2 separate regions of the Homo sapiens genome follow, and region 2 is linked to region 1. Evidence: promoter capture Hi-C in human tissues and cell types (Jung and others, 2019). All regions are on one chromosome and are shown on one strand. The core of a region is centred on a gene start or on the middle of the fragment in contact, and the rest is flanking DNA. Distances in the headings are between cores, read along the strand shown.

Evidence for each region. The method cuts DNA at HindIII sites, captures the fragments that hold promoters and counts their contacts. A contact is called where the count stands out against the background at its distance.
Region 2: a fragment that was not itself captured here is called in contact with the fragment with the promoter of LYZL2 in region 1 in 3 of the 25 tissues and cell types used here (liver, mesenchymal stem cells and mesendoderm cells).

The regions. Positions count from the first base shown.
Region 1 is chr10:30,628,057-30,631,519 of GRCh38, forward strand. It overlaps LYZL2 (lysozyme like 2), which reads right to left and starts at 1,697. Exons shown (of 5, transcript NM_183058.3): 1 at 1,537-1,697. The HindIII fragment of the contact is 10,435 bases long and covers 1-3,463 here.
Region 2 is chr10:30,522,337-30,525,672 of GRCh38, forward strand. No RefSeq gene overlaps it. Among named protein-coding and RNA genes, the nearest start is that of MAP3K8, 90 kb to the left of the region's middle. The HindIII fragment of the contact is 4,168 bases long and covers 1-3,336 here.

The DNA.
Region 1 (3,463 bases), core at 447-2,946:
GGCTGAGGCAGGAGAATGGCGTGAACCCAGGAGGCTGAGCTTGCAGTGAGCGGAGATTGCGCCACTGCACTCCAGCCTGGGCGACAGAGCGAGACTCCGCCTCAAAAAAAAAAAGATTCATCGTTTGGGGGTTTATTGAAGGGTGAAGATTAAGCACCTAATCTTTCCTTTTCTTTTCTTGATGCATTTCAAAATGTGGGAGCATTGCTTCCAAAGTACTAGTGTTTTATCTTAGATTGCAAATGCATTGCTTTGCTAAGCTTCACAACCAGTGCTCCGGGCGGCCTCCTAAAAGTCTGGCACCTGACTGGGGAGCAAGAGGGATGGAGGACAAAGCCTCATGAAAGGAGGAAAGCACCTGGGGGAGCAGAGGGACAATAAAGAGGCCCCCATAGAATCGTCTGAAATGGGAGTAGGATCAAGAGCGCTGTCTCCTGCTGCCTACTGATTTTCCACAATCTCCTCCCCTCTTAAAATAATGTCTTCCCCAAACACAACAGCCTTGCTGGGATGGGGTGAAGTGAAATTTCTGACAACTACTCGGGATCCTGAACTTGATGTTCTTACATATGTTCATCCCGTGTCATTTTCTGCACTTGCCTGGAAACTTCTCTAGTCATTAGTTTCTCTCCCTGGGGCTGGATTCCTGCATTGAAAGGCTAGGCCCAAAACAGGGATAAGTAGTCATCAGCAAGGCCACCGCACCGAGTAACAAGCAGGGCTTTAAGGTGACTAAGCAATAAGATAAGGAACTGCATTGCATGAGGGGCATGTACATTACAAACGTGAATAGCAAGCGTGGGCAAACCAGGCCCGCTTTTGTATGTAAAGTTTTATTGAAACATAGCTACTCTCATCATTTGGTAATATATTGTTGGTGGCTGATTTCCTGCTGCAGTGGCAGAGTTGAGTAGCTGTGTTAGAGGCTGTATAGACCACAAAGCCTAACATATTATTATCTGGCCCTTTTCAGAGAGATCATGCCAGTCCGTGGTGTACAGCATTGTGCTAAGCTGTGAGGGACAGACAAACGAGGTTTAAGATGCAGAGCTTAGGCTGGGCATGGTGGCCCACACCTGTAATCTCAGCACTTTGTGAGGGTGAAAAGGGCAAATTGCTTGAAGCCAGGAGTTTGAGACCAGCCTGGGCAACAAAGGTAGACCTCTGTCACTACAAAATACACAAAAATTAGCCAGGCATAGTGGTGTGTGACTGTGGTCCCACCTGTTTGGGAGGCTGAGGTGGGAGGATCTTTTAAGGCTGGGAGGTTGAGGCTGTTGTGAGTTGTGATTGTGCCACTGCACTCCAGCCTGGGCAACAGAGTGACATCCTGTTTCAAAAAAAAAAAAAAAGATGCAGAGCTTACAAATAAGGTTGGTTTCCATCCTCTGCCTTAGAATGTTAACTGATCTCAAACAAGTCAAAACAAAACCCGTAGCAATGATAACCCCAAGCATCATGTTCTACATCCTTCAAGAACCTGCCATTGCTGGTTCTCAGGGACAGGTGGCTTCATAAGAGTAATTTAGGTCTTACTGAAAAGGCAGATTCCTGGTGCCTGCCGCAGAGGCTGACTTCTCAGTTGAGTCTGCGGAAGAAACACTGCTCCACTTAGTCGGTGACAGGCAGCTCAGGGGAGCGTCCTGCATCCCCTGAAGCCATGTCTGATTCTAACAAGGCTCGAGTAATCCTTTCCTAGCTCAAGAACCTTTCTTTAGAGTGTTAGAGAAAGAAAAATTCTTAGTCCTTTGTTTCTCACCACCTAGAGATGCTAGAATTCTACTTCTTGGCACTAAAAGCTATATCATCCTGCACGCTTGTGTTCTGAAGCAGGTGCTAACTCTCTTCTGGGCCTTAATACCTCTCGTTTTTTCTCTTTTCCTCTCAACAACTGTCCTCACTACACAACTTGGCCAGGGCCTCCCGTCCAAGTGAGAGCTCTTCTCTAAGGCAACAGTCTGCAAACTTTATCACAAATTCCATTAATAAAGTTAAGCATGTATCCTCTTTAGATGTATATTAAATTATAAATCACACTTCTGTACCTCTGTACTAATATGCTACATAAATTATCAACATACACAAAACTAAAATCTGAAAATGAATGAGAGGTGAAATTAACATTAAAAATTAATTAACAGCACATTTCTTTGCTATAGTTATATTGTTAATTAATAAAATATTGTCAAAGGAGGGCCACAAAAGAAATAAAAAATTTTTATGTATAATTAACATGATTTCATTGTTTTTTAAAAATTTGGCTTAACACTTTGTGACTCAATAAAGAGCTAGTTTGAAGGTCCATTTATTTCTGTGTTCAGATTTAATGACACATTTGAAATGAATTCTCATTGGAATATGTAGATCTCAGTATAAGTTTGTTGTTAGTTGTACCTAACTAATTATTGTATTTTATTAAATTCCATCTGCAAATAATGCAAAGATCTTGTTGAAATCTAGTTTTAAGTTTATATAGTATTACATTGTGTAGATATAACATATTTAGCCAATTCCATATTGACTCACACTTAAGGTATTTTTTTCTTCTATGATAAACATATTACAATTAGTAATCTTGTACATTTGTCATTTGTACATTTGCAAGAATATCTGTAGGATACATTCCTGGAAATTGAATTGCTGGGTTAAGGACTGTAATTTTGTAATTTTGCTAGATATTGCCAAATTGCCTTCCACGTGGGCTTGTATGACGAAGATGGCTAGCATACCCTATTACCAAAGGTTAAGATATTTGCTAATATTAGAGATGAAACATAATTTGTCAGCAAAGTTTCAATTTCAGCTTCCCTTATTTCAAGCTGTCTGAGCATCTTTTCTTATCTTCAGAAGCCATTTGTGGACTTTTTTCTCTCTCTCTCTCTCTTTTTTTTTTTTTTTAATTGAGACAGAGTCTCCCTCTGTTGTCCAGGCTGGAGCTCAGTAGTGTGATCTCGGCTCATTGCAACCTCCACCTCGCAGGTTGAAGCGATTCTCGTGCCTCAGCCTCCCGAGTAGCTGGTATTACAGGCATGTGCCCCCACGCCCAGATAATTTTTGTATTTTTAGTAGAGATGGTGTTTCACCATGTCTGCCAGACTGGTCTCAAACTCCTGATCTCAAGCAATCTGCTCGCCTCAACCTCCCAAAGTGCTGAAATTATAGGCATGATCCACGGCATCTGGCCTGTGTGCTTTTTCTTGTGAATTGTCTATAATACGAGAAAATACATAGGTTTTTCTTCAAACATCTTTTTCAAAGTGCTTTGAAATAGGAATTTTATAGTCAATGAGAAAATAGAGACAGATTGTCTTTTTTTTCAAAAATGCTTGTTTAGCAAGTTTTCGGATACATAGTAAATATACAAAAGCCATTTCTATTCTTATATACTAGGAATCAAAATATTTTAGATTCTTCTAAAATAAAAAATATCATTTACAACAGCACACACAAGAATATGACGTAC
Region 2 (3,336 bases), core at 671-3,170, 110 kb before region 1:
GTGATTTCCTATGCCTGTCTTTACTTTAATCTCTTAATCCCGTCATCTTCATAAGCTGAGGATGAATGTCGCTTCAGGACCCTGTGATGATTGCGTTAACTACAGAAATTGTTTGTAGAGCATGTGTGTTTGAACAATATGAAATCTGGGCACCTTAAGAACAGGATAACAGCGATTTTCAGGGAACAAGGGAGATAACCTTAAAGTCTGGCTGCCTGTGGGCCAGGCAGGACAGAGCCATATTTCTCTTATTACCAAAAACGGGTAAGAGAAGTATCACTGAATTCTTTCCCCAGTAAGGAATATTAATAATTAACAGCCCTGGGAAAAGAATGCATTCCCGGGGGGGCCTCTCAAATGGCTGCCCTGAGAGTGTCTGCCTTATGCAGACGTAGGTAGGGATGAAACACGCCCTAGTCTCCTGCAGCGCCCCCAGGCTGGCTAGGATTAGGAAATTCCAGCCTGACAAATTCTAGTCAGACCGGTTCTCTGCTCTTGAACCCTGTTAAGATGTTTATCAATGACAATGCGTACACAGTGGGGCATGGAAGTTCATTAGTGATTCTAGTTTCACCCTGACCTTGTGATCTCGCCCTGACCTCCTGCCTTGTGATCTTTTGTTGCTCTGAAAGCATGTGATCTCTGTGACCCACATCCTATTCGTACACTCCCTCCCCTTTTGAAAATCACTAATAAAAACTTGCTGGTTTTGCAGCTTGTGGGGCATCACAGAACCTGCCAACATGTGATGTCTCCCCTGGACACCCAGCTTTAAAATTTCTCTCTTTTGTACTCTTTCCCTTTATTTCTCAGACTGGCCGACACTTAGGGAAAATAGAAAAGAACCTATGTGAAATATCGAGGGTGAATTTTTTTTTTTTTTGAGACAAAGTCTCACTCTGTCGCCCAGGCTGGGGTTCAGTGGCATGATCTCAGCTCACCACAACCTCCGCCTCCCAGGTTCAAGTGATTCTCCTGCCTCAGCCTCCTGAGTAGCTGGAATTACAGGCGCGCACCACCACCCCCAGATAATTTTTGTATTTTTAGTAGACACGGGGTTTCACCATGTCGTTCAGGCTGGTCTTGAACTCCTGATCTCAGATGATACACCCACCTCAGCCTCCCAAAGTGGTGGGAGTACAGGCATGAGCCACCGTGCCCGGCCACATGTGACTTTATAGTTCCTCCCAAGAAGCAGTGTATCCTTCTCTGCCCCCTAGTCCAACCCAGCCTAGATTAGCAGAGCCCCAAACCATCTGTGTAAATATGAGTGGTTGTAAATGATTCTTGTCTATAATCGCTGAGTTTTGGTGTCTGTAGTGTATTTCTCAGCAATAGCAAACAAATTTTTCTTTTTTTTCTTTGAGACAGAGTCTTGCTCTGTCGCCCAGGCTGGATTGCGGTAGTACAATCTCAGCTCACTGCTGACCACAGTGAGCTGAGTGCCACCACACCTGGCTAATTTTTGTACTTTTAGTAGAGACTGGGTTTCACCATGTTGGCCAGGCGGGTCTCAAACTCCTGACCTCAGGTGATCCACCTGCCTCGGCCTCCCAAAATGCTGGGATTATAGGTGTGAGCCACTGCGCCCGGCCTGCAATAGCAAAGAAATGTAAGTACAAACATACTTCAAATTTTAAAAGAGTTTCTAAGCTGGGCACAGTGGCTCACACCTGTAATCCCAGAACTTTGGGAGGCCGAGGTGGGTAGATCATGAGGTCAAGAGATTGAGACCATCCTGGCCAAACTGGTGAAACCCCATCTCTAGTAAAAATACAAAAATTAGCTGGGCATGGTGGTACATGCTTGTAGTCCCAGCTGCTCAGGAGTCTGAGGCAGGAGAATTGCTTGAACCTGGAAGGCGGAGGTTGCAGTGAGCCAAGATGGCACCACTGCACTCCAGCCTGGGCGACAGAGCGAGACTCCGTCTCAAAAAAAAAAAAATAAATAAATAAATAAATAAATAAATAAAAAATAAAAACCCCATAAAGAAGCAGTTTCTATAATGCCTATGTACATTTCAAATAATACTAACACTAATATTAATACAAATGCTAATAAAAGAATATAAATATTTTAACCCAACTTAAGTAATAAACATTACCAAATACCTTTTCCCATTCTTTTCCCAGAGCTAATTATGATCCTGATTTTGTTAATTACCTCTTTGCCTTTCATTAATTACTTCTTTGCCTTTCTTTATAATTTTGCCAATTTTTACTTATCTCTAAGTAATAAATACATTACTGAATATTGCTTATTTTTAAGCTTTATTGTACTATGTAAACTTGGTTTGGCACAAAATTATGTTTTTGAGATTTAACCACATTGATTGAGATACTCCCTTCCCCCCGCCATTTTTTCCTTACCTTATTGGTTGCAATTGATTATTAATATTTCACATGAATATTTTACCTAATCCAAAGTTAACTAATAAACTTTATTCTGCTCCCAAATCAAAGAACCTCAGAATGCTTTAACATCAATCTCTCCACTCACAGTTAACATACCATTGTTGTCCAGTAATGTTCAACTTCACACATATAATGTTCAACACAATATATGTTAACCATTATATTGGTTAACATAATCAGTGAATTTATATTTTCCCACATTTAGGCCAGGCATGGTGGCTCATGCCTGTAATCCCAGCACTTTGGGAGGCCGAGGTGGGTGGATCACCTGAGTTCAGGAGTTCAAGACCAGCCTGGCCAACATGGTGAAACCCCGTCTTTACTAAAAATACAAAAATAAGCTGGGCATGGTGGAGGGCACCTGTAATCCCAGCTACTCAGGAGGCTGAGGCAGGAGAATCACTTGAACCTGGGAGATGGAGATTGCAGTGAACCGAGATCACATCACTGCACTCCAGCCTGGGTAACAGATTAAGACTCAGTTTAAAAAAAAAAAAATAGCAGGGCACGGTGGCTCACACCTGTAATCCCAACACTTTGGGAGGCCAAGGTGGGTGGATCACCCGAGGTCAGGAGTTCGAGACCAGCCTGGCCAACATGGTGAAACCCCATCTCTACTAAAAAAAAAAAAAAAAAAAAATTAGCCGGGCGCGTTGGCAGGCGCCTGTAATCCCAGCTACTCAGGAGGCTGAGACAGGAGAATCACTTGTACCCTGGAGGCGGAGGTTGCAGTGAGCCGAGACTGCGCCATTGCACTCCAACCTGGGCAAGAAGAGCAAAACTCCATCTCAAAAGAAAAAATGTTCCCACATTTTATTTATTCACCAATCTTTCTTGTATCTCAGACTTCTCTGTGATCATTTCCTTTTATTGGGAATTGTATATTTTAGAGTTTTTGAGAGTCTGTTAATGGTAATTATTC